7 separate regions of the Homo sapiens genome follow, and regions 1, 2, 3, 4, 5 and 6 are each linked to region 7. The links are contacts of gene promoters, found by promoter capture Hi-C in blood cells and fetal thymus (Javierre and others, 2016). All regions are on one chromosome and are shown on one strand. The core of a region is centred on a gene start or on the middle of the fragment in contact, and the rest is flanking DNA. Distances in the headings are between cores, read along the strand shown.

Region 1 (3,818 bases), core at 96-2,595, 630 kb after region 7:
CATGCTGTGCAGACCATACAACCCATGGCATAGCTAAAGCAGTTCTTACTCTGGGCTTTCCTTCCTTGTTTTTCTCACCTGTCTCTTCTCACTACCTCTCTTCTTAGACTCTAGAGAGGCAAGATGCCCAAATATGGTTAAGCTTCCATCAGACTACATGGTTCCAGCCCTGGCACTGCTAAATTTTTCCTGGGCAAGTTATGAAACCCCTCTGACCCAAAATTTTCTCAAACATAAAATGTGGCTGATAACAGTACTGTTTTAGGTGGTTCTGAGGAACAAATGTCCATGTAAAGCATTTAGCACAGTACCTAGCACATTTTCAGTGCCCAGTAAGTACTGACTAATTACCATTATTTTTCAGTACCCATCCCATCATTCCCTTCTCTCTTTCGTTTTTTCCTCTTTCTCTTATCTGTAAATTAGGCCCACTGGTATCTATCACTCTTGGGGCTGGTATTGGGCTAGACTGATACTTAAGTGATATGGGGCTTAAACAGCCTTTGTCTCTGACAATATGAGTGATAGAGATGTAGGAGATGTTCTCTCTCCTGCTTTAGTTTTGTTTTTTATTAAGCCCTGAAAATAACAGCTGCTTGTAACCACATCGCAGCAGGTCAAATTAATCATGTCTAAAACACAGTATTCCTTCTCCTAAAAGGAAAATGCTAAAGAAATGAAATGGAACCATAATTAAAAATCCACATAGTTTGAATTTTGTTTTGTACTACTATGTATATGGTCTAGAAATTAATATTAGCTCTTATACACAACTCAGTTTAAGGAACTTTTGCATTATCTCCTAGGCAACTCAAAGCTTTCAGGCCAACTTTGTCAAGGCCCTTGATGTTTGAGTATCTGTAAGTTACCTGTGCTCTCACAAAGTGAAGGTGGGATCCTCAGATGCTAGAGTGACGCATGTCCTCAATCTAGAAAGTGGTCTTTTTTTAGTGTGAATATGCTCCTCCAATGGAACGCAAAAGCGCTGAGAAGATGAGCACTAAGTGGAGCTGTAAGAGGTCAAAAGATAGGAAGCAGAAGTTAACAAATGACTAAAAATAGACTGTAATGGAATTTTGTTGTTGACCTTTAGGTCCTCCATTCCAGTGGCGCCATCTGATAAAGGGGATCACAGATATGGTCCCATATGTATAAATATAGATCGTTATTTCTGGGTGATTTCAAAAAGAGTTGTTATAATTGGAAACCCTATTTTCTACTTGGTAAAATAAATGGAGGCCTCCTTCTCCTGATATTTTCCTTTTTCAGCTCACCTTCTTGTGCTTTTCTCAACAGTTCGCAAAGGTTACCGGATCCAGGCTGACAAAGAGAGAGACTCCATGAAGGTCCTGTACTATGTTGAGAAGGAGCTGGCTCAGTTTGATCCAGCCAGAAGGATGAGAGGCAGATGTGAGCATCTGTTAGTTTTCTGTGATCTGTGCATTATGCAGGAGTTAGTGTGTAAAGGGGATTTGGGGGTCACCAAACTTGGGCAGCCCTGAGCTTGCAGGCTTAGAATTAGCAGGGGTGCTGGTGACACTACTGAAGAAAGTAGCTCTCAGTACACAGAGGGGAAAAAAAGGTCTTCTGGTGTGAAGAGTAGAGCAATTCGGTAGCATCTTGGTTTATGTTGGTTTTCTCCATGGGGCAGTCAGTATTTCTGGGGCTGTGTTATCCATGCCCCATGGATAGAACCAACATTCTTTGAATATATTTTATTCAAACTTTCTTTGAATAAAGAACCAACTTTCTTTGAATATATTTTAAAAGGAGTAGAAGGGAAAGACTATTTTAATAAAGCATTCCAAATAGTCTTTCCCTTCTACTCCCTTTAAAATATATTCAAAGTAATGTCTTAAGATGTGGAAGCTTAAGTATCAGTTTTTTCCAACGTGAAGGGTGCTAGCCTTGGATAATACAACCACCAACTCGCTGCATGGAGGCCTCCTGAAAGTGAAAGAACAAGTCTGGCACGTGAATCTGGAAAAAAGGTTGTTGCTCCTCGAAGATGCCAAACAACAGAGATTAAGGGGCAAGCAAAGAGGCTGATCCTCTTGTCAAAAGAACTTTTTGAATACTAAGTCTGAGGTGGCCGGGCCCCAACCCTTAACTCACCCCCAGCCCTTGGATACTCTGCAGCTGACACAGCTGATTCTTGGGGTGGATTCCAACTTATGTATCATGGGAGGTAACATAGGGCAGGTCCCACATGGACAGGCTCATTATCAGAGGGTGCTGGCGGGTGTGGAAGTGAGGTCATTATGCTGTCTCTTTACCCTCCTCTTCTTGGAACTAACGAGAGACTTGACGGAATTGTTGGGGAAACAGTCCCAGACTAGAAGAGCTTTATTCAGATTAAGGACAACATATTCCACCCAGTTTGCAATTCTAAATTCATCCTGTCTGCGTTGTATCCATTGCTGTATCCTCCCACCACACCGACTATAAAAAGACCATTTCCAGATTGGAATGTCAGGAATGCAGATGTCACTGCACTTGACAAGCTAGTTGTAACAATGTTGTCATGGATCCCTGTAAGGGGCCAGAGACAGAGTGAGTCAGGGACCACAGAGGAGTCTGTGCAGGAAATTTGCGAATCTCACAGCTCAGAGAAAAAGTTAACAGCTAAGGTTAAAACTAAAGGAAGAATTCTGGTTTAGGTGATGTCTCCTGTCTCTCTACTTCATTAAAATGGTCTCTAGGGGCTTAATGGTCATAAGGTAATGGACTCTTAGAGTCAAAGGGGGTCTTAGAGATGGCCTAGGTTAACCTTTGTAGTGTGCAGGTGAGGAAACAGAAGCCTAGGGATGCGGTGACACAATTAGGACCAGATTCCAGCTCTTCTGATTCCCAGTCCTGTGGTCTTTCCAGAAGAAACTCTTGGGCAAACTGTGGATGGCTCCATGGCTGTAATGTGGATGGCTCCATGGCTCCATTCTGTTCAGAGACCACAGCCTTCTAGCTAGTAGGACTTTAGAATGTCAGAGCTGGAAGGGACTCTGAGGTTGTTGAATCCGTCCCCTTCACTAAGGTAGAAAGGGAAAGTAACAAGCACCAGTACTCAGTGCCAGTGCCAGAACTGGAACCCTGATCTCCTGGAACCTGCAAGTTAATATTATAACAACTGCATAGAGATAAAGTAGGAATACTGTTTACTTTGAGAAGTCCTGTTCCTGAAGAACATAGTAAACCATGGGCTGGATCATGGAACTGGGCAATCTTGAAATCTCATTATAAAATGGATCTCATGGTTTCAGGTTGGGGCAGGAGAGTAACAGATTCTGTAAGAATTGAGTTTGAGGTCCAGGCTCATGAATTTGCTAGCCAGTATGGTCCTCATTTGCTTTGCCCTTCTAAATGGTGGGGGTTGTTTAGGGGATGTTTTTAGTCTGGGAAGTTCTAGTATAGGGCTCAGCAAACTATATCTCCTGGGCCAAATATATTTCACTTCCTTTTTTTTTGAGACAAGGTCTTGCTCTGTCACCCAGGCTGGAGTGCAGTGGCGCAAACACAGCTCACTGCAGCCTCGACTTCCTGGGCTCAAGGGATCCTTCCACCTCAGCCTCCCCAGTAGCTGGGACCACAGGCATGTGCCACCATGCACAACTAATTTTTTAATTTTTTATAAAGATGAAGATCTTGCTATGTTTCCCAGGCTGGTCTCAAACTCCTGGGCTCAAGCAATCCTCCCTCATTGGTCTCACAAAGTGCTGGGATTATGGGCATGAGCTACCGTGCCCAGCCCCACTTCCTATTTTTATAAATAAAGGTTTATTGGAATATAGCCATGCCAATTCACTTATGTTGCATCTATGACT
Region 2 (3,581 bases), core at 129-2,628, 660 kb after region 7:
CTGCCATACTAGTTTCCTGGGACTGTCATAACAAATTGCCGTGAACTGGGTAGCTTAAAGTAACTGAAATTTATTCTCTCACAGTTTTGGAGACCAGAAGTCCAAAATCAAGGTGCCAACAGGGCTAGCTCCTCTTGAAGGCTCTTAGAGAACATCCCTCGCACACCTCTTCCCTAGCTTCTCATGGCTGCTGGCAATCCTTGGCATTCCGTGGTTTGTAGACACATTACTCCAATCTCTGCCTTTATGTTCACATGACTTTTCACCTTGTATCTTTCTGTGTCTCAAATCTCCTCCTTTCTCTTATAAGGACACAAGTAGTTGGTGTCCACCCTAAATGCAGGAGGACCCGTTAAGCCCATCCAAAATCCAGGATGATCTCATCTTGAAATCCTTAAATACAATTGCAAAGACCCTATTTCCAAATAAGGTGAAATTTACAGGTACCAAGGGTAAGGACTTGGACATATCTTTTGGGGGCCACAATTTAATCCACTACATCTGTCCTGATGTCATCTCTCTGATGAAAGCAGAGACATCTAGAGGAGTGATATATCTTCCATAATTCAATTCTCATGAGTAACACTCTTCTCTTTGTCCCTTTTGCCCTAGGAATAGTAATAGTTTCCCTTTATTAGCTAGACTCTGAGTGTCACAGAGACCCTGTGATAAGAGATTAAATTGTTAAGCATGCTTCTAGTCAAAAATAATAGGCTGGGCACAGTGGCTCATGCCTGTAATCCCAGCAATTTGGGAGGCCAAGGCGGTGGATCACCTGAGGTCAGGAGTTTGAGGCCAGCCTGACCAACATCTCTACTAAAAATACAAAAATTAGCCAGGCATGGTGGTGCATGCCTGTAATCCCAGCTACTCAGGAGCCTGAGGCAGGAGAATCACTTGAACCTGGGAGGCAGAGGTTGCAGTGAGCCCAGATCACGCCATTGCACTCCAGCCTGGGTGACAGAGCGAGACTCCATCTCAAAAATGATAATAATAATAATAATAATAATAGTAATAGCATAAGAATAAATTTGTATTCCTGGAAAATAACTGACAAAAAGTGAAAGTGAGCCTGGACATAGAGTTCATAAAGATGAAGCTAGGCAGGAAGGTAGAGTGAATTTTATATTTTTCTTTGAAGAAGAATCATCTTATATTTGATTCACTTTTTCTGAGCATTTCTCAGAGTTCACTTGTTAGAATTTAGTGGGAAAATAAGAAGTAACAGTCATTGTGAGGTAAAGACTCTGAATTTAATGTCATATCAAAAAATAGGTCTAATATATAAGAATTATCTAGGATTTTTAAAAAAGCTCTTGATTTTGTACTTTAATATTGATATACTAAATTAGAATCCATAGATATGTTCTACATATCTTTACACCAAACTCTTAACACACAAGGGATTAATTTATGAATATTTGGAGTAAGACAGTCTTGGTTCGTGTTCCCCAAAAGGCATACCCTGAAATAAGGATTTGAGGAAAGTAGTTTATTGTAGAGAGTTTATTGGGAAAGTGAGACAGGGAAAGGAAGGACGTCAATAAAGAATACATCGTTAAGGCAGTTATCATTTCCTGCAACTGGAGCTCAATCCAGATGGGTGAATGTGGGAGGCTATATAGGAATGTCTCCTTCACCTGAGTTGAGAGGTGAGGAATCTGGACTAGTTATTCCTCAACTCCTTGCCCATCTTCAGTTGAGAACTGCTTCTGAGGGCATGACTCTCCAGAACTTCTGGCTTATCCTTTTTTGCCGGGCTGAAGAAAAGTCCTCAGGCAGAACTTTTGGATATTCATGGTGACAGCATTGGCTTATAGAGGTGAATGTGAGGGGGATATAAGTGGGACACTGGCAGCAGCTGCTCAAGAAATTTATGTCATTAAAGAAAAAGACAAAACCAAAAATACACACATCCTGGCAATGTGGCAAACTCTATTATATATCCCTAAATCTTCCTTCTGTCTCTGTCCTTGCCGTTGCTACATTGTGGGCAGAGTGTAATTCACCACCTCCATGACTCGTGTTGTCCAATGGAAGGTTAAGAGACATGATAATAGCAGATATTTTAAATGACCTGCATGCAGGAGGTTTCTTGTGACCTCCTGTGCCTCAGTCGTCTCTGCTTTTACTTAGAATTCCACTTTAGGGAATCAGTCCTACAAAAATACATGCATACAAAAATTAATTATGTAAAATTATGGTCATTGCAGAATTAATTGTAAAGGCCAAAAAAATAGAAATAACATTATAATATAAGAATGGGTAAATAAGTTACAGCATATTCTTACTGTAAAATTTTATGCAGTATGTCCTTAAATGGAAAGATGTGAATAATATAAAAATTTGGAAAAGCAAATTTCAGAACTATATATAATCCCCATTTTTTAACAACAGAGATGATAATTATGCATATTCAAAGATACATATTTGCATCTTTCTTATATACATATAGAAAAAACTGAATGTAAAATATATCTTTGGGCATTGCAGTTGAGGGAAGTAAAGGAAACCCCTGCTAATAGTTCTTTTAAATGTCATACATGAAACATGTATCAGATGAAAAAAAGAAATTTTTATTTCAATAGGTTTTTGGGGAGCAGGTGGTGTTTGGTTACATAAATAAGTTCTTTAGTGGGGTTTTCTGAGATTTTGCTGCACCCATCACCCTGACAGTATACACTGTACCCAATGTATGATCTTTTATCCGTCACCCACCTCCCCCACTTCCCATTCCCAAGTCCCCAAAATCCATTGTATCATTCTTATGCCTTTGCATCCTCATAGCTTGGCTCCCTTTAAGATGAAAAATTTGATGAGCCAAAGATACAAAATGAAAGTAAAAGGTTTTTTCCTTGTCTTCATACCAGTCTCCATACCACAGATAACTAATTTTGTAATTTATTCTAAAAACTCTTTTAATGCATATGTTCACACCATATATGTATCTGTCTGTTCTTATAAAAATGTTACATGTGGTACTGCAACTTGTTCTTTTGACTCTTGAGGTCACAGAACTACCTCAGTCTTTTCACAGAGGCATCCTTATTCCATCATACAGGTTTACTGTTATTTAGTTAACTTGCCCCCACTTATGAATACTGGGTGTTTCCAGTCTTTTGCTGTGGCAAAACAATGTAGCAATAAATATTCTTGTACATATATTTTGCTAAACATTTGCAACTATATCTATTGTGTAAATTTCTGCCAGAGGGATTACCAGTGAAAGGAGATGTGCATTTTAAATTCTGAAAGATATTGTCAAATTATCCTCCAGAAAGAACACACCAATGCACATTTCCACCAATGACTTAGGAAAGTGTTCATTTTCCCTTTAGGTTTGTCGCATTACGTGTCATTAAACATCTATATTTGCGAAAGAGGTGAAAAGAGTCTTATTTATTAATTGTTGTTTATTTGTATTTATTTAATTCGGAGAGACTAATTTGTCATTTGTTTTCTGACCACTTGTGTTCCTTTTTCTAAAAACATTAATAACCTTTGACTGTTTTCCTCCTGGTTTGGTCATCTTTTTCATACTGACTTGTAAAAGCTCTTTGATAATTGAGGAAGTTTAACTT
Region 3 (3,846 bases), core at 338-2,837, 640 kb after region 7:
TTATTTTAAGCTCATGTGTGGTGCAATGCCATATTACATTGTGCCAGTCAAGAAAAACCTTTCTTGCTCCTTATCTGCCTTACATTTCTCCATAATGACTCTATATATACACAGCAACCCTGGGGAAGCCAGGAAGAGTGAATGATTGAGTAAGGAAGAAGTAAGTGTGCTAAATGGGAAAAAATGAAAAAGGCACACATACACGCATTGTGCATTTCTTTCTAATGCAACCTGTAGACTGCAAACAAAATCTTAAGATGGGGAGGGCAAGAGGCTTTAACTTTACATATTCTTTAGAGTTTGATAATATAAGAGAATGGCTGTCTTAATTATAGACATAGACTGTTTTAGGGTTTAAGAGTGAACAGAAGGCTGTTAATTGTTAAGAGTGGCCAAATAAATTATGGATGTAGATTTCATTCAAGAGGCAAGGAAGGCCGGGCCCTGTGGCTCACACCTGAAATCCCAACAGTTAGGGAGACAAAGGTGGGAGGATAGCTTGAGCCAGGAGTTCAAGACCTACCTGGGCAGTATAGTGAGATCCCATCCTCCACAAAAAGGTAAAAATTTAAAAAGACAAGAAAAAAAAGAAGCAGCAAGGAAGGACTAGACTCATAGGATGGATTAAAATTAGGCAAAACAAATAATTCATTTTTCCCTATGATTATCTAATTCTAATCCAATTTTTATATGCTTTCATTTCAAGAAATAAGAAGTAGGCTAATTTCAGGTTCTCTTAGAAAATCTTGGCAGAGACATCCTAATCATACTCATCACACCACTTAGGTGAAAATTATATTTTCTGCTGAATTGGTTATAAGCATTTCCTGAATACTTATCAGGTGGCCTAAGATGACTCACCAAAAATGGCATGAGGTGTAGAAGTAGCTAGGAAGTTGCTTAGAGGTGAGTGAGTTGGTCTGACACGCCATCTAGTGGCACACATCCAAGAGAGTGACTCTATTGCTAACCTTCCAGTATTGGATGGAGGTGTGCCTCACATTACTTAAGGGAAAAGCTACATATGAATTTATATAGCTTATTTTAATGCTATATATGAATTTATATAGATGAATTTGGCTTTTGAAAAACAAATTAAGTGCATTAGGAATTTTTTCTTTAAAAGTGATATGTTTTTCTTACACTTTGCAAGTTTAGAACTTGCCATATTATGTTTTTGAGGCAGGCTTCTGTGGATATAATGTGGGGAAAACCATGAGGTTTTTGCTTGGGATCAAGTGGGATTTAGGTGCATGCCTTTTGTGATTTAAAGCTATTTTAAAGTGTGCTTTTAACACCATGGAATTACAATTGTTTTCTGAAGTCAGGTCAGGACTCTGATTCTGCAGAATTATGGTGAAGCCAGTTTCTCTTTAACAAGCAAAAACCGTGTCATCAAACTGTACAACCAAAGGACCTAAATAGTCCATTCCCTAGTCTTCAGCTGTACAAAGATGAATCAATCTCTCTGTCTCTTGTTCTCTCTCTCACTGTCTCTAAAAACCAAGCAGAGGAGAAAATTCCAGACATGTTAAAACACTTTACTTTTTTTTAAAACAATCCTTGCTCTCTGGAGATATTTTCTCACATTTTGTTACAAATTTTGTGTAGAAGCATAGCCACAGTGGATTTTTTCTGGCTCTTTTTCTTTCTCTGAGACGTTAATGTCCAGTAGAGCAAAGCTAGAAGGATATATATATATATATATATATATAAATATATATATTTATATATATTTATATATATATATATATATATATGTATGTATACACACACACATATATATGTCAATTTCTATTAACCTTGTTTTTGGAAAAACGCTTTGTTCAACTGAATGTAGTTAAATTATAATGGACATTAATATACAACCCCACCCTCCCAGCCTCTTTTTGTTGCTGGTATGACTTAGGCACCTAGCTTTTCTCATTCCCTCAGGCCAAGGCGATAGCCTCTTATGTTTCATTCCTTTGGCAGCTGTATTAGTAAAAAAATTTTTGGTTGCAAATGACAGGAAGATAGCTCAGACTAGCTTAAGAACAAGAAAAGGAGAAATGGAGCTCATCTATTAGAGAGATCCTGGAGTAGCTCACAGGCTGGAAGAGCTGTAGGAACTGAGAACAAACCTGGGTCTCAATGTAGTAAGATTTAAGATTCCCTGTCCATCATCCACACCTACTTGTGTTTTTACATCAATACATTTTCTCAGTGAGGATAGACTTACTCCAAAAGGCAGGAATATAGCCACTAGCAGTCTGAGAGTCACAACTTTCCAGCTCATTTGACCAAGCAGGCAAAAGGCTTTACTCATGAGAACAATCCTGGAGAAAGACTGCAGTCAACTCATATTGAGTCATGTGCCCATATCTGAGCTAATCATGTGGCCAGAGATGTGGCAAGTCTGTTTATGACCAGGAAGGTGAGACTGCGATGGACTGGATAGTGGGATAGGAAGATTTCTCCAAAGAGAGAAGAGAGTTGTTATTAATAGAAGAAGTGAGAATAGTGATGCTGGGCAGACAAAACACATACACAACACCAACAGCTATCTGCTACTGCATCCGAAAAGATTCTTTATCTGCAGCCACAGAGCCCTGAACAACCAGCCTTTCCGGCTTCCTTTTGTTGCCAATTCCCTCACACGTATTATTCCAACCCAAGGCTTCAGGGAGGCTGTTTTTACCACAGTTCAGTGACAAATCCTACCAGAGCCTTCCATATACCAGTGAATGTCCTTGGTTATACTTGTCTCGTTCTGAATTTAGAAATCCATCTCTGTGTCACTGCCTTCATTAGGACCTTTCGTCTCCTCCCTGGATTCTTCTGGTACCCTCATTTCTTGTCTCCTACTTCCTGTTGTCTCCTAATTATTCACCTTCTACTTTTTTTGTTAGAGGTTCCAGACAGTTTCAAGAAAAATACTTAATGCTGGGCAAGGTGCTTCTCCCTTCCTCTCTAAGTTCCATAGAACAGGGGACATTTTGCTTCTCTGTTGCTATGGACTGAGTGTTTTGTGTCTTCCCCAAATTTTTATGTCAAAATCCTAATCCTAATGTGATGGTATTTGGGCATGAGGCCTTTGGGAGGTGATTAGGTCAGTAGGGTGGAGCTCTTATGATGGAATTAGTGTCCTTATAAGAAGAGACAGGAGAGAGATTACTTCCTCTCTTTCTCTGCCATGTGAGGATACAGCAAGGTATCTGTCTGCAAACCAGGAAAAGGACCTTCGCCAGGAACTGAATGTATTGGTGCACTGAGCTTGGACTTCCCAGATTCTAGAACTGTGAGAAATAAATTTCTGATATTTAAGCCACCTAGTCTATGGTATTTTTGTTACAGCAGCCTGAAGTGACTAAGACACCTATCCACCTCTTCATTCCTTTCTGTATAAACAGGAAAGGAGAACTACTTGGATTCCTTGAGTGTCTGAAGTTCATCATGCCACATTTCCCAGTGTAAAGTAAGTGTTTACGCACCCCACATTCTCTTTTCTGGTCCTACACCTTTCACTTCCTGTTCTCAGGGATGGCCAGCACGTCTGTGCTTCCTTCTCTCATGTGAAGGAGAACATGTGACTTGGGCAGAGTCCTTTCTTTGCATCTCAGCTTCAGACCAAAGCGGCCTTCTCTAACATGGTTATCAGAAACCCTGCATTTTGGGAGTTGGTTGTTCTTTGGTGAGCTCCCATTTAATTTGTAGCCTTTATGTATGTACAGCATTGGTCATGGAAGAATAGGGCTATGTCACTCAAAATATGTATAATTTTTACATTACATTATATAACTTTTAAAATATATTTTCTTAAAAAAAACTTAATTGCTTCCAAGCAACCGATATCTCACATTCCTC
Region 4 (3,953 bases), core at 170-2,669, 610 kb after region 7:
AAGGCATTCCTCACTGTCCTAAACAGAAAGTTCATCTGTATAGTGTGTTGGCAAACCCTAGAAGGACTCCAACTTAATAAGTTTAAAGAAATGGAGGTAACTCTGCTGTCAGCAGTGGTGTCATAAAGATAAAGGAAATGTTATACTTCCTTTTCCTAAGTTCCAATGCATTAAACAATGTGTTATCAAGTGATTGAGTAAGCAGGTTCTGAAAACAGGTTTGTCCTAAATCCTGAACTTCTTTACCTTCCATTGTAACTTTGAAGGCTTGGAAATGATTAGAGCTTGGATTTAAGTTTTAAGAGTAGAGACCAAAACAGTCTTTTTGGCTGAAAGTTTTATGTGTTATTTTATCTCTGTAATGACTTCCTCAAAAATACCCTAGGATAACTTCAAAAGTGGCAGTGGCAGAAAACAACTGAAATGGGGAATTTTATAGGTAAGATAGGTAAGTTATTTTATTCACAATGCATATTTCTACCCTGATCATTTAATCCAAAGCGTGTGAATGTGTTTAGCTCTAGAGTTTGTGACAGTATGATATGAAACTGGCACTTGTGTGTGTGCATGTACAAAGTATTAGTATGCCTGATTCGTTTGGTCTATTCAACTTTTTGGTGTGGGATAGGGTGGTGCTTTTGTCTCCTTAGATAGCAAGATGGCATTTGGGGATATTCCAATGACTGGAGAATGCTCCTGGCATTCTTCCCTGAGTTCAGAAGTGTTAAACATTGTGCAGTATATAGAATAATGCTGCATGAATAAATGAATAGTTCTTTCATATTTTCATTAAAAGCCTACTTCCACCTGAGGTTGATAAAGTCACTATAATGCGCAGCAAATCATAAGTCCAGCTAGAAACCCTGCATATTGAACAAGGGGATTTGCTATTGGAAACACTTCAAGTTCCTGATGGGTGGGTGAGGTGCCTCCTCACGCTGGGCTTCTGGAGATGCCAAGCGTAGAGCATAGTCCCTGCTCTGGAGGGGTTTCCATCTTGGTAGTGGAGGCACTCGTAAAAGTAAAGGCACATTGCAGCCACGAGATAACTGCTTTAGTGAAGGCATGTGCAGTGGTCCTAGGGAGCATGGAGGAGGAAGCACCTTCTTAGTGCAGCATTCTTACAGGGCTGTGTCAGAACATATCTCAGTCTTGTGGTCTTTGTGGTAAGGAATTGAACAAAGCAACTGAAATGCTTATCTGAGCAAAGAAAGTAAATCAAGTTTGCTTTGAGGGGGCTAACCTACCAAGAAAAAGGTGTAAAAAAACTTGGGGAAATGCCACTAGGACATAATTTGTTGTGAAATGTGCAAAGACAATGTTCTGAGTAGAAGTGGGAAACCAGGCAAGGACTAGGTCTCCAGGGAAAGGCCCCATGACCAGGCAGAACCTGATGTCAAAAATGCAAAGAGGGCTGATGAAAACTAATTTGGCGGGAAGATTTAATAGTTCTTGTGGCACAGAAGCACATAACTAAAGCTGAGTTCTGTGTGGGCTAGACTGTGAGCCTCTCAAGTGTCTCAAGGGAACACATCTTGTCCCCTGTGTCTCCACCTAGCTAAATATAAATTTCTTTGTTGAATGAATGAATGATGAATGAATAAATGAGAGACATTCCAACAGTGAGCTGGTTTGCAGGAATGTGTACAAAGAGTTCAGTTGAGGATAACTTCAAAAGTGGCAGTGGCAGAAAACAACTGAAATGGGGAATTTTATAGGTAAGATAGGTAAGTTATTTTATTCACAATGCATATTTCTACCCTGATCATTTAATCCGAAGCGTGTGAATGTGTTTAGCTCTAGAGTTTGTGACAGTATGATATGGAACTGGCACTTGTGTGTGTGCATGTACAAAGTATTAGTATGCCTGATTCGTTTGGTCTATTCATGTGGAAATTTCTTAAAAGTAATGGATTCTGCAAGATTTGGGGAAAACTGTTTGAGCGCTTACATAAAAACTGTATTTTCCTCTGATAGTTTGAGCTGTGGTTTGAAAAGAGTAAATGTGGCCTTCTATTTGCAGGGCTTGCTTTCCATCCTTTCCTCAGACATTAAAGTGACTTGTAATTGCCACTCTTAAACTGAATCCTGGAAGAATGACAGCGATTCACAAGTGTTGGTAAAGTGCTGCTGAAATCTGGAATGTATTTACTGCAATTGTTTAGACTCTGTAAGATCAGGCCTTCATTGGATATGATAGAAGAAAAGATAAAGCATTTCTAACTAGCAATAACATTTCTTAGGAATTGTTAGGGAAGAAGCTGGAAGTGGAATATTTTCAGAAATATTCAGCATAAATATTCAGCATAAATCCACTTTTTAAAATGCCTTTAGCTCCAATAAAATATAAGTAATGGTGTAAAAGCTATAGAGCCTTTTTTTTTTTTTTTTTTTTTTTTTGAGACGGAGTCTCGCTCTGTCGCCCAGGCTGGAGTGCAGTGGTGCAATCTCGGCTCACTGCAAGCTCCGCCTCCCGGGTTTACGCCATTCTCCTGCCTCAGCCTCCCGAGTAGCTGGGACTACAGGCGCCCGCCACCACGCCCAGCTAATTTTTTGTATTTTTAGTAGAGACGGGGTTTCACTGTGTTAGCCAGGATGGTATCGATCTCCTGAACTCATGATCCGCCCGCCTCTGCCTCCCAAAGTGCTGGGATTACAGGCGTGAGCCACCGTGCCCGGCCAAAGCTATAGAGCTTTGCACCGTCTCTGCTGTTGACATGATATATTGGTATTGTCTGCTCTCCCAAAACTCCTACTATGTTTTGAATTCTGAAGATATTTAATTTCACCCACTTTACTGCACATATCACCTACACTACCCTGTGGCTAACACTACACAGGTGCATTATGGGAAGGCTTCACCTTCTGAAGCATCAGATATTGACTGTTGCTTCAGGGAGAATGAGAAGCTTGATGTATGTCTTCCTGTTGGAGTGAAAAGCTTTGTGAATCACCTGTCCATATGTCTGATACACCCTTTCCTTATTTTAATTTTTTCCATTACAAAAGTAAAAAAGTCTAAAGTAAAAAAATGCAAGTTCCTTCATTGTTCTTCCATGCTGCTCATTCTAGCTCCCTAGAAATAAGAAGGGCTAGCAATTTCGTGCATAATACTATTGTTTCCAATTTTAATTTGAACATAGGTGACTAGATCTTGTATTTACTGTTATTCTGTGTGTGGAAGTAATGTTAGAACACCATCAAGGTAACCTAAACAGCCTGTGGGGAAATGCAGCTTTGTGTTTTACCATCCCATAAATTTATCTGTGTGTGTATACCCTTCAGAGGTTGCAAACTCATGATTTCTGGGCTCTATGCAGCCTGCAGACATACTGTGTATGGCTCACCCAGTGTTTTAAAAATAATGAACTGGTTGCCAACATTTGAAAATCAAGTTATTTCACATAAAATCTGGGGCCTGGAAAATATTGAAAAATAGGATGATCTGAAACCCTGAAGACACATTTCTATGGGGCCACAAGTGGCTAGAGGTGACTAGTAGCAGCCTCCTGATGACATCTCTAGCTACTCCCTGTTATATTATATCTGGCCAGCTGCACTCATTTGCATTACCTGCTGGTGCCCATAGACATTTGAGTTTTTAACTCCAATCACTGAGTATCAGATTTGGGAACTAAAAGTGATATAGAGTGACCACATAATTAATTGTCCAAACTAGAATACTTTGAGAGTAAAAAGGGGTGCTATTAAAAATTACACCTGGACCATAGGCATAATCCACAACTGTCCTAGACAAACCAAGATAGATGGTCTTTCTGTTTGTAGACTACTCCATTCAACCCCTTCATTTTACTAATGAAAAAACTGAGACCCTGAAAGGGAAAGTAATTTGCCTGTAGTAATCACCAAGTGAAGTAATGATAAAGTTGCCCTGAGTATTCTGACTCCCAGTTCACTGCTTTTTCCGATATAACATGCTCTATATAATATGT
Region 5 (3,460 bases), core at 619-3,118, 690 kb after region 7:
CTGGGTTCAAGCGGTCTGCCTGCCTTGACCTCCCAAAGTGCTGGGACTACAGGCATGAGCCACCGTACCGGCGAGTCCCCTTTTAGGGAGGATTTTCCTTTCTTTGTTGGTATTCTGATTCCTAGGTGTATTAGTTTGCTAGGGCTGCCATAACAAAGTACCACAGACTGGTTCGCTTAAACAACAGAAATTTATTTTCTCACAGTTCTGAAGGCTGGAAGTCTGTGATCAAGATGTTGGCAAGAGGCCTCTCTCCTATAGATGACAGCCTTCTTGTTGTGTGTTCACATGGTTATTTCTTTGTGAATGTATCTGTGTCCTAATTGCCTCTTCTTATAAGGACACCAATCATACTGGATTAGGGCCCACCCTAATGGCCTCATCTTAATTACTATTTAAAGGCCCAATCTCCAAATAGAGTCATATTCTGAAGTACTAGGGTTAAGGCTTTAACACAGGACTTTTGTGGGGGGACACAATTCAGCCCATAGAGCCAGGGAATGCAAAATTTCCTTTCCTCGGAGTTGGAGCATGTATGCTGAACTTGGGGAAGAAGCAAAATGTGTTCATGCTGTAGTCCCAGCTACTCAGGGGGCTGAGGTGGGAGGGTAGCTTAAAGCCAGAAGTTCAGAGCTCTGATTGTTCCCCTGCACTCCAGCCTGAGTGACAGAATAAAAAACCCCGTCTCTTTAAAAAAACAAAACAAACAAAAAAAACTAGAAGCAGCCAAATCTGTGGTTCTTAGTATTGTTTCTGCCTCTGCAGATACTGGGCTAACCTAAAGCTGTGGTTCAAGCAGAAGATCAGCAAAGAGGAGTTTGACCTTGAAGCTCATAGACTTCTCACACAGGATAATGGTAAAATAATTATCTGCAGAGTTATTTTACTATTCTGTAGTTTTCCTAGATTTGTAGTAAAGTCTTTTCCCTTTTTAAAAAGTAAAATTTTGGTTTTGTGGTGTATAAGGTTATCTTAATAATGTGGATACTTTAAGTATAAAGCATGGCAGAATAGGGGATATCCAAAATCTTGAGAAGCTAGACCAAAGTTGTGGTTTCCTTATGTTGAAAATGTTTTGAATTTGATTGTCACTATCTTTCCTTTTTCAGTCCATTCTCACAATGATTTCCTCCTGGCCATTCTCACGCGTTGTCAGATTTTGGTTTCTACACCAGGTAAGGGAGTGGAAATACTTCCAGTGTGTGTAAGTCAGCAAAGCACTAGACTTTAGCTTTCTCTAATAGACACAGCTAGTGTTTGTAAAGCAGATGTTTTTGAACTACTCAGAAGAAAAGTTTTATTAGGTAGATACAAATTCTTTTACAGAATCTTTTTTTTTTTTTAAAGCAGAAACTCTTTATTTTTAAGAAAAAGGTATGATTTCTCATTTTCAGTTCTTGGCATACATTTTAATTCTTTCCAGTGGAACCCAAACCTCCTGAACCCCTTTCAGTGTCATCCAAAGCTTGAATTTCTGTTTCTGGAGAAAAAGTCTGTTCACAAATGAGCTATGCAATTTGATCACCATTTTTGACACCAAACTTTTCTTTGCCAAAATTGAATTGTACAACACCAACACTTCCTCTATAATCTTCATCTTATGATGCCAGCTCCTACATCAGTAAAGTGTTTTTCAGCCAAGCCAGATGTGGCACTACTCTTTTCTAACACCCAGAAGGAAGGACTGTCTGAATGTTTGTTTTCACAAGTGCTTTCTCCCTAGGTGGTATTGTGTAATCCTAGGCATGTCCAAGTCCTAGCCCCCGTGGACCCCTTGGTCCGGGCGTGTTATGCTGGGAGAGCTGGGCAAGGCTGCTCTGTGTGCCACCCTCCCCCGCAGGCCAGTTTGCTCAATGGGGGAAATAGTGGTGTCCCTCAGAATAGGGCTTGAGAGAGCCAGAAGGCAAGCAAGGAGATAGCCCGGGAACAAGAGGGCGCAGGGTGAGCACCACAGCAGGGACTGCCCAAATCTACGGAGCCTTGTAAAGCAGGTTATGTCCCTGTACTTATATTACCTTTTGATATTGAGTCCCCACTCAGCTACATTTTAGATTACTTAAGTAAATGAGAAGTGAGGAAGAGGGTGGGAGATCAGGATGAAGAAGGTAAGGGAGATGAAGAGAGGGCAGTTGGTGTTAGGTGTCCTGTACCTAAGGGATACCTAACTTGAAAGGTGTCCGTAGTGGGGAGGTGGGGGAACCCAGCATATGTTGGGAACCTGGACTTCCACTATGTTCTTAGGTAAGATAGCACCTGAAAGGTCAAGCTTCAGCACCTGTGTTTCACAGATTATTGGTAGATAACAAGAGGTAGGGGATAGTAGCATGTTGAGGGGGTAGGTGGAAACGAAACCTGTCACTTTAACCTGAAGAGAAGATTAAGCTGTAAGTCACCTCTCTCAACCATCTTATTTTAATCAGTCAAAAACAAGTAATTAAATACATTGAAAACTTTCCTCATGATAAAAGTCATACTGGACTTTTTAAAAAAAATTAGGCCAAATGATTTATTCAGTAGTTTTTATATTTCTAAATTGCAATTTATATCTATTCATAAGACTACAAAAGTTACCATTACAATTGTGCTTACCAACTCCTGTTGTAGATTAAATTGAAATTTTTTTAAGGGCTTAGGGTGATTCTGATGATCATATATCGAAAGCTCATGTTTTATCTATAAATGGCTGGTATTTTTTAATCCTCTCTCTCTGTTTACTTCTACTGTATGATAAAGAACTCAAGCCAGGGCGTGGTGGCTCACGCCTGTATTCCCAGCACTTTGGGAGGCTGAGGCGGGCGGGTCACTTGAGGTCAGGAGTTCGAGACCAGCCCGGCCAACATGGTGAAACCCCTACTCTACTAATAATACAAAAAAGAAAATTAGCCGGGCGTGGTGGCGCACATCTGTAGTCCCAGCTACTCAGGAGGCTGAGGCATGAGAATCGCTTGAACCTGGGAGGTAGAGGTTACATTGTGCCACGGCACTTCAGCCTGGGCGACAGAGTGAAACTGTGTTTAAAAAAAAAAAAAAAAAATTCACATAAGATCTCCTAACACCTCGTTCTTTGACCCTCAAAGAAGTCGTTGTTAATGTGTAGTAAACTGTGAGCACCTGCTTGTGGGGTTGTTTTAGAGAGCAGTGACTGCCTCCCTCCCCTCACCACACTCATCACCGCACATTCTTACACTGTGTCAGATTTTTGATGTGCTATTTAATTTATATACAAGTAGACTTTAGCCATTCCTCTTTTATGTCCAAAGTTAAATCATAATCTATTTTGTTACATAAAATTTAATTTGATCAGAAAAGCCAATATTGTGAATCTTACTTTTTAGGGAAGCATATTGTAAATTGCCACATATGCCAAAGATAAATGGAGTGATCAGAAGTAAAAACCCTGGTTGATAAGAGTCAAGAGACTTAGGTTCAAGTGTAGGTTTTGCCACTAGCTTACATAATA
Region 6 (4,027 bases), core at 1,304-3,803, 710 kb after region 7:
TTGTTTTTAACTGTATTTCTTATTACAGTCATTAAAAATCCTACTCCAAAGCTCATCCTATTTAGTGATAAGAAGGCACTGGATGGCTTGTTTCAGGCTGGTTATTTTGTATTCTTGCCTTCAAAGCTATTTCCCAAAGCTGTATCTTGGGTCTGGGTGATTATGATACTGTTTTTCCTTAGCTTAGAAAATTAGTGTCCATATGCTATATAGCCTGCAGCCACTTCAGGGGTCAGGCCAACAGTCACTTACATACATTGGCCTTTCCTCCCTGACCCAAGGAAGCCCCCTTGTTCTCTCCCCACCTCCACAGCACCTCATACATAGGAAGCACGTACTAGGAAAGGGCCTGTAACTGCTTCATTTATTCCCTGCAATGGGCCTGTGGAGGAGTAGATACGCCTATTTTTTTTTTTTTTTTTTGAGATGGAGTCTTGCTCTGTTGCCCAGGCTGGAGTGCAGTGGCACGATCTTGGCTCACTGCAACCTCTGCCTCCTGAGTTCAAGCCATTCTCCTGCCTCAGCCTCCCTAGTAGCTGGGATTAGAGGCACAAGCCACCATGCCCCTACTTAATCAAGGAGAATATGGGCTTGGAGAGGTCTCATTTCCAGGCTAATGTCATAGCCAATAAATGGTGGGGTTGCGTTTTGGGGCCACCACCGCCTGACCCCAAGGATCCAGCAATACCGAGCACAGCTGCCTCCCTGATGACTAACCCTCAACTCTCCCCAGCTCTGTGCTCCACTTGTACTCAGCTGTGTGCAGTTCCCTGAACAACCATTCCCCAACGCCCCCACACCTTGGCCCATATTCTCCCCTGGCCTTGGAGGGCCTCCCCTTTCTTGGTCTGGCTGACACCCACCCATCTTCCAGGACTCAGCCCAAAATCCCTGCTCCCGAGGAAGCCCACTCTGTGCCACGCTGTGAGCACACCCACATGTCCCTGAAATGTCCTGGGCTCCACACTCCCGGGGCACTCATCACACTGCAGAATTCTTTTGGTTGACTTGTCTGCTCCCTCCACTAGAATCTGAGCTTGTTGAAAGCAGGACCTGTACTTACTCCTTTTTGCTTCCCTAAGCCGAGGACACTTCCTGTAGCTAGTAGTCACTGAAAAATGTGCTTTTGAATATACGATCTAGGCAAATCTCTGGATTTCCCTTCTCTTGTTCTACTTGGAACTGTTTCAAAGAATCATTAAATTTTATCTGTCATAAAACCAAACCTACTCTTTGGAGTAAGAATGGACAAACATCCCTAAGTGTGAAATATGAGGAGGTAAAATGGATTCGTCTTCAGGCTTTCCTCAGACTTCCTCACCCTGGAAAGCCAGTCAGCCCAGGAATTTTCCACCCTACTCCTTTCCCAATTCCCAGGCTTTTAAAGAACTGTCTCTTTGGCCTTTTTTTCTCCCTGGGAAGTTCCAGATCTAGGTCATACCTATTTATAGTCCCTTTCCCTTTGCTGATAAAATGGGAACAGGACTGTCTATGCCTGTCATTTCAGAGGGGCCATCAATACTCTTAGGGGGGGTAACATATTCTAGGCCTGGTAAAAACATCAGGTACCAGGAGCCCTGAAGCTGCAGGAAGAAAGCTGGGGGCTGGTGCAGGATTCATCTCTTCCTATTAATGACTGAGCCACGGAGGATCTTCAAACAAGCCCACATTATGCTCCAGAGGCACAGTGTAGTGGCTTAGACATTCTCCTCACAGCAAGCCTCTGTGAGAATGGAGCGATCCTTCAGCCAGGCCCTGCTGCGCAGGCCTCCCCTCGCTCCACAGAGGCCTTTTATCTGGCTCAACATAGCAGAAGGTAAACAGGGCCGGCCCCGGGCAAAACTGAGAAGTCAGGCAGTCTGTGTACCACCTCCAGACACCCCTCCTTGGCCTTGCAGGTAGGGACCTTCAGTCCCTGCCCTCCTCCCTTTCCTCAGAAGATCAAGGGCTCACTGGATAAGTGTTCTTCCTCTAGCTTGTGTGCACTGCCTTGCTCTGCTCAGGAAGTTGGCATTCCAATGCTATCTCAAAGGGTAAATGTTGTAAAGTGCTTACACCTTGCACAGCCTCGCTAAAGCCTTGCAGCCACCCAGCAAAGACGCAGGGATCTCGGGGGAAGGGGTTGGGGTAGTTTGTACTGATCCACTGATGGAGTGCCTGCTATGGGCCAAGCACTGTATAGGACACTCAATCATATAAATATATTCTCTCACTGAATCCGCTAAACTAGGGACATGGGGATCACTACCTCACTTTTATGGGTAAGGAAACAGAGTGGTTAAGTAACTTGTCCAAGGTCACAGAGCTAGAAAGTCTGATGCCAAAGCTTTGCTTTCTTAGCAGGCCACTCAGGCCTTAGCATGGTGGCTGTAGAGAGCCTGAGGCCTCCCTTAGAAAGATGGGCTAAGGCCTCATTCCACAGAGCTAAGGAGAAAGCTCAAACTCGCTGGCGTAGCACTGCATGTCCTCCTGGCTGGCTCTGGCCCCTGGCCTGGCCTCCTATACCTGATCCCCTTCCACTCCCTGCCATGAGTTTCAGGTTCCAGCTGCAGGAGCTGCTCCTAACTCTGCACCCAAGCTCCTCTCCTCAGTGCTTTTGCCTGTGCTGTCCTCTTGCCTGGAATGCAACCCCCTTCCCTTCCCTTGGCTGATTCCATAATGACTAAGACTCAGTTCAAAGCACATTTTTTATTTTTTCTACTTAAAATTGTATTTCTATTTCAATTCTATGGAATTTTATCCTAATATATTATCATAGTTCTTATGCTTGAAAAGCTTTCACTGATCACCCTAACATAATTCTCTATAACCAAAATACATATTTTAAAAACAGATTCTTTTCTTCTAATGCTCTAGAGCAGGGTTTCTCAACCTCAGCACAACTGACATTTTGGGCCAGTTACCTCTTTGTTGTGTGTGTATGTGTGTGTGTGTGTGGTGGTGGGGGGGCATCCTGTGCACTGTAGATATCTAGCAGCTCCCCTGGCTTCTATCCACTAGATGCCAGGAGGATCTCCCAGTCCCCAACGCACCCCCACCAAGTCAGACCAACAAAAGTGTTTCCAGATATTGCCAAATATCCAGGGGTGGGGAAAGGGGGTAGTGTTTCTAGATGTTGCCAAATGTCCAGGGGTGGGGGCAAAATTGCTCACTGCTCAAGATTAGGCCTTGTCCAGGAAGCCCCGGAGTTCTCAGCCTGAATGAGGCATCCCCTCATCTTGGCTCCTGGTGCATCCTTGCAGACTTCCACCACTGCACTCTGCACACTGTGCTTACTATTACTTATGTTTACTTTCCTGCCTTGCTCACAAGACTGGAAATTCCATCAGGAAAAGAGTCTCTCTTTACGCCCAGCACTGTGCTTGGTAACTGTGGATGGATGGCTGATTGCCTGGAGGCCACAAATGCCCAATCCCCAGCACCACCAGCTGCTGGACTCCCTCCTCCAGCCCTTCTGGTTACTTCCTTCTTTTCCCACCTAAGCATGGTTGGTCTTCATCTTGCTCCTTCCTCACTGTCCCAACATTCACTTTCATTGCACCTGTTCTCCAAGGCTCTCCATTTAGATGTTCTGGGTTGACCAATCTAGCCTCAAAGCCCTGAGTTTTGACTGCCTTGAGTTCTTGTTCCAGGCTAAATAGACCTGACGCCTGCTTGGATCAGAATTGGGAAGAAGGATGTGGTGGGCAAAGAACACTGATGAGACAAAGGCAGCGCGGTGTCCACAGCTAGACTGGCAAACTGAGAGCCTGTGGTTGCACTGTTTTTTTTTTTTTTAAATTAAGGTATAGCATACATATGGTAAAATGCATTACTTTTAAGGGTGCAGCTCAGGAGACCTGTTTTGAAGAACAAATGTCAGTGTTCATGTGTAACCTTAGGGCAAGGCAGATAATCTTTCTGCATCCCAGTTCTCTCCTCTGGTAGGGAACAATTTAGAAGTACCATGCTTGTATGGATAGGGGCTCTTCATGGAAGCAAAGGATACTATGTATACTGACAATGTTTATACACAACGGAAAATAAG
Region 7 (3,690 bases), core at 494-2,993:
AATTAAAAATAGAGGTACCATATGATCCAGCAATCCCACAGCTAGGTATATCCCTAAAAGAAAGAAAATCAGTATATTGAGAGATGTCTGCACTCCTGTGTTTACTGCAGCACTATTCACAACAGCTAAGATTTGGAAGCAACCTAAGTGTCCATCATCAGATGAATGGATAAAGAAAATGTGGTATATATACACAATGGAGTACTATTCAGCCATAAAAAATGAATGGGATCCTGTCTGTCTTTGCAACAACATAGTTGGAACTGGAGGTTATTACGTGAAGTGAAATAAGCCAGGCACAGAAAGACAAACTTCACACATCCTCACTTATTTGTGGGAGCCTAAATGGAAACAATTGAACTCATGGAGACAGAGAGTAGAGGGATGGTTACCAGAGGCCAGGAAGGGTAGTGGGGGGACTTGCAGGGGAGGAGTGGGGATGGTTAATGGGTACAAAAAATAGTTAGAATAAGACCTAGTATTTCATAGCACAACAGGGTGACTATAGCCAATAATAATTTAAGTGTACATTTAAAATAACTAAAAGTATAATTGGATTGTTTGTAACACAAAGGATAAATGCTTGAGGCAATGGATACCCCATTTACCCTGATATGACTATTATGCATTGTATGCCTGTAGCAAAATATCTCATGTACCCCATAAATGTATACACCTACTATGTACCCACAAAAATTAAAAATTTTAAAATAAGTAAATAAAAAGTTTTTTAAAGGTCTTGAACTTTCGGGCTTCTGCCTAACTTTACTACTAGTGTAAGTGGGCCCCTTGAGATTTCAGCACCCCAGCATTTGTTAGTGACTGAAATAATGAAAATTCTGATCAGGCCCTTGCTTGCACATGTTGACAACTCTCTTTTTGCCCAATATCCCTTGTTCCTACAACATAATCATAAACTGCTGATGTACTGTTTCTTTATCAAGCAGGAGGAGATAATAACTTCAGGGTTACGAAAAAGTTTGCAGGAGGAATAAGTCCTTTGAAGTACTTTGAGGCCAGCTTCTGTCGCCCAGAAGTCTGATTGTTCAAGGAATTATCTGAGACTGAAGAAACACAGACTTTTTCCCTCGATTCCCTGAAACTCCCCCTCCCTGACTCGCTGGCCGCATAAACACTCTCTGCTTCTTCTTTTTGTTAGGGCGGATTTGAGAGATCTTGCCCTCCCGCCTTCTCGCTTTGGCCAAATCGAATAAACTTTTATCTCCAAGCACCTATATGTCAGTGTTTGGCATCAGCTACACATGGGGTACACGAGCCTGAGTCTGGGCTTCTACAACGCTGGGACCCTCGCTGTTCTTTGGAGCTGATGGTAAATTCAACAGAAAAGAGGCGCATGGGTAGAAAATGCAGCATTTCCTCTCAGATGCCAGATATTCATCTCCAAAGGTATTAAAAGGAGGGGGTGTGTGCCTGTGTAAAGAGGCTGGTCTTTTCCTAGCAGTACGATTTGGGCAAGTTGCTTGATTTCTTCAAGCCTTTCTTTTTCCGCCTGTCAAACAAAACAAAACAAATATCCCGTTTAGGACAAATTCACAATCCTTAAAGAGGGCAGGCAGAGCGATTGGAATGCAGATGAACCAATCCCTTCTCCTGCAGGTTGCGGAGCTGCAGAGGGACCCCGCCCCCTGCATTGTGCTTAGCTCTGATTGGCGCCTCGCGGAGGGGGCGGGGCCTGGGCGCGCCGAGCTCCGGCTGGGTCCCTGCAGGTCTTGGGGCCCGGGACTCTTCCTGGAGACACCGCCATGGCCGGGCTATCCCGCGGGTCCGCGCGCGCACTGCTCGCCGCCCTGCTGGCGTCGACGCTGTTGGCGCTGCTCGTGTCGCCCGCGCGGGGTCGCGGCGGCCGGGACCACGGGGACTGGGACGAGGCCTCCCGGCTGCCGCCGCTACCACCCCGCGAGGACGCGGCGCGCGTGGCCCGCTTCGTGACGCACGTCTCCGACTGGGGCGCTCTGGCCACCATCTCCACGCTGGAGGCGGTGCGCGGCCGGCCCTTCGCCGACGTCCTCTCGCTCAGCGACGGGCCCCCGGGCGCGGGCAGCGGCGTGCCCTATTTCTACCTGAGCCCGCTGCAGCTCTCCGTGAGCAACCTGCAGGTGAGCTGGGGCCCGCGGCTTCCCCAGGCGGGCTGTGGGCGGGGCGGCCACAGAGCGAGCCTTCACTCTCCCCAGAATTCTTCCCGGGAAGTGGAGCGTGGCTCGAACGGCTGTTGCTTCTCTGCCGCGCAGGCAGGTAGGTGGGCGTTGCAGCGTCCCAGATGTTGGGCAGCTGGGTACCAGGAATTTCCCACAAGCCTCCGCCACTGGGCCACGCACCTGGGGTAAATTCTCTGCCAGCAGCCCGAGGACTTCTCATCCGTGAGTGGTTCTCAGTCGTCTTGGGGCCCAGTGTCTCTATTAACTGTGCTCCTATTCTCTTTTTTTTTTTTTTTCCCTTTGAGACAGAATCTCACTTTGTGGCCCAGGCTGGAGTGCAGTGGCGCTATCTCAGCTTACTGCAACCTCTGCCTCCCAGGTTCAAGCGATTCTCGTGCCTCAGCCTACCGAGTAGCTGGGATTACAGGTGCGTGCCACCACACCCGGCTAATTTTTGTATTTTTAGTAGAGGCGGGGTTTCACCATGTTGGCCAGGCTGGTCTCAAACTCCTGACCTCACGTGATCCACCCATCTCAGCCTCCCAAAGTGCTGGGATTACAGGCGTGAACCACCGCGCCCTGCCTGGGCTCCTATTCTTAAAGGTTTTACAGGGCATAGAGATTGTTAGGTACTTAAGCACTTTAATATGTGACTTCAGGGTTTCTCACTCTCTTACCCTTCCTGAATTAAGCTTTTCCCTCCTGCAGCAAGACGCTAACGTACAATATCATGGACGATTACAATGATTACTGCAGTCTTTAGGCCTCCACAGGCATAGTGGCTCCTCAGTAAGATGCAGAGCTGATTGAAGGTGTATCTCTTCCTCGCCCTTTGCCCACCTTCTGGTGCAGGGCCACACTTACAACTCTGATGGATCTCTGCTGTCTCAGGGATGGGGTCACAGACACCCAGCTTGGGAGGCCGGAGACACACAGAGTCCAGGAATGGAGCCTGATTTGATGGAGGGTCTTTTTGACAAAGCTCTCACATTTGAGTTCAACTCTGAAAGTACAACATTGTTGATAAAGACAGGATGCAAGAAACTGATGCTTGATTAATCACTTTTCCATTTGCCTTCCATTCGTTGTCTCTTCTATTAATTCTTTGAAGTAGGTATTATATACCCCATTCTGCAGATGAAGAACTTGAGGCCTACCTAGGTTAAGTAACTTGTTTAAAGCCAGCGGGCAAACCCCTAGTTTCATCTCAGGTTCATCTTTCTTCAAACCACCTATCACAGGCTGGTGGCCCATCAGCTGAATATGTCCCACAGACCGGTTTGGCCTACACAAAGTTCTGTTTTGTTTTTAATAAATTTGAATTTGTTACCAACATTTTAAAATTTAGATTTTACTTTAAAATGTAAATCTCTAACTTTTCTTGAAAAATGGGAAGATCCAGTGACACTGTGGGCCTGCACTCTTTGAGCAAAAACAGAAGCAGTGCCCTCTTTTAGCTAAGGCAGATACACCCCAGTTCACCATTTTCTTATTCCCAGCCCATTCCACACCTTTAGGCGTTTGCTCAAAACAA

What was found. The method cuts DNA at HindIII sites, captures the fragments that hold promoters and counts their contacts. A CHiCAGO score of 5 or more calls a contact.
Region 1: a contact is called between a fragment that was not itself captured here and the fragment with the promoter of CREG1 in region 7, in 4 of 17 cell types (total B cells, activated CD4 T cells, total CD4 T cells and 1 more). The highest score is 8.2, in total B cells.
Region 2: a fragment that was not itself captured here is called in contact with the fragment with the promoter of CREG1 in region 7 in 5 of 17 cell types (fetal thymus, total CD4 T cells, total B cells and 2 more); the score reaches 8.7 in fetal thymus.
Region 3: a contact is called between a fragment that was not itself captured here and the fragment with the promoter of CREG1 in region 7, in 9 of 17 cell types (total CD4 T cells, fetal thymus, non-activated CD4 T cells and 6 more). The highest score is 11.7, in total CD4 T cells.
Region 4: a contact is called between a fragment that was not itself captured here and the fragment with the promoter of CREG1 in region 7, in 1 of 17 cell types (fetal thymus). The highest score is 7.3, in fetal thymus.
Region 5: a fragment that was not itself captured here is called in contact with the fragment with the promoter of CREG1 in region 7 in 1 of 17 cell types (fetal thymus); the score reaches 5.6 in fetal thymus.
Region 6: a contact is called between a fragment that was not itself captured here and the fragment with the promoter of CREG1 in region 7, in 1 of 17 cell types (fetal thymus). The highest score is 6.6, in fetal thymus.

What each region holds. Positions count from the first base shown.
Region 1 is chr1:166,924,659-166,928,476 of GRCh38, reverse strand. It overlaps ILDR2 (immunoglobulin like domain containing receptor 2), which reads left to right. Exons shown (of 10, transcript NM_199351.3): 7 at 1,297-1,410. It overlaps LOC124904449 (a long non-coding RNA gene), which reads right to left and starts at 1,306. Exons shown (of 3, transcript XR_007066714.1): 1 at 870-1,306. RefSeq lists an enhancer at 3,113-3,272. The HindIII fragment of the contact is 1,052 bases long and covers 820-1,871 here.
Region 2 is chr1:166,889,499-166,893,079 of GRCh38, reverse strand. No RefSeq gene overlaps it. Among named protein-coding and RNA genes, the nearest start is that of TADA1, 15 kb to the right of the region's middle. The HindIII fragment of the contact is 6,086 bases long and covers 1-3,581 here.
Region 3 is chr1:166,907,651-166,911,496 of GRCh38, reverse strand. It overlaps ILDR2 (immunoglobulin like domain containing receptor 2), which reads left to right. Exons shown (of 10, transcript NM_199351.3): 10 at 1-3,310. Among named protein-coding and RNA genes, the nearest start is that of TADA1, 33 kb to the right of the region's middle. The HindIII fragment of the contact is 9,574 bases long and covers 1-3,846 here.
Region 4 is chr1:166,941,939-166,945,891 of GRCh38, reverse strand. The region is part of intron 3 of ILDR2 (immunoglobulin like domain containing receptor 2); the gene reads left to right. All of the region lies in intron 1 of LOC124904449 (a long non-coding RNA gene), which reads right to left. Among named protein-coding and RNA genes, the nearest start is that of ILDR2, 32 kb to the left of the region's middle. The HindIII fragment of the contact is 2,984 bases long and covers 1-2,911 here.
Region 5 is chr1:166,867,160-166,870,619 of GRCh38, reverse strand. TADA1 (transcriptional adaptor 1) reads left to right here. Exons shown (of 8, transcript NM_053053.4): 2 at 766-857; 3 at 1,110-1,175. It also overlaps the pseudogene DUTP6. Among named protein-coding and RNA genes, the nearest start is that of TADA1, 7.4 kb to the left of the region's middle. The HindIII fragment of the contact is 801 bases long and covers 1,468-2,268 here.
Region 6 is chr1:166,841,754-166,845,780 of GRCh38, reverse strand. All of the region lies in intron 2 of POGK (pogo transposable element derived with KRAB domain), which reads right to left. Among named protein-coding and RNA genes, the nearest start is that of POGK, 4.3 kb to the right of the region's middle. The HindIII fragment of the contact is 449 bases long and covers 2,329-2,777 here.
Region 7 is chr1:167,551,815-167,555,504 of GRCh38, reverse strand. It overlaps CREG1 (cellular repressor of E1A stimulated genes 1), which reads left to right and starts at 1,743. Exons shown (of 4, transcript NM_003851.3): 1 at 1,743-2,117. The coding sequence starts at 1,764. RefSeq lists a silencer at 1,605-2,054. The HindIII fragment of the contact is 3,087 bases long and covers 1-2,850 here.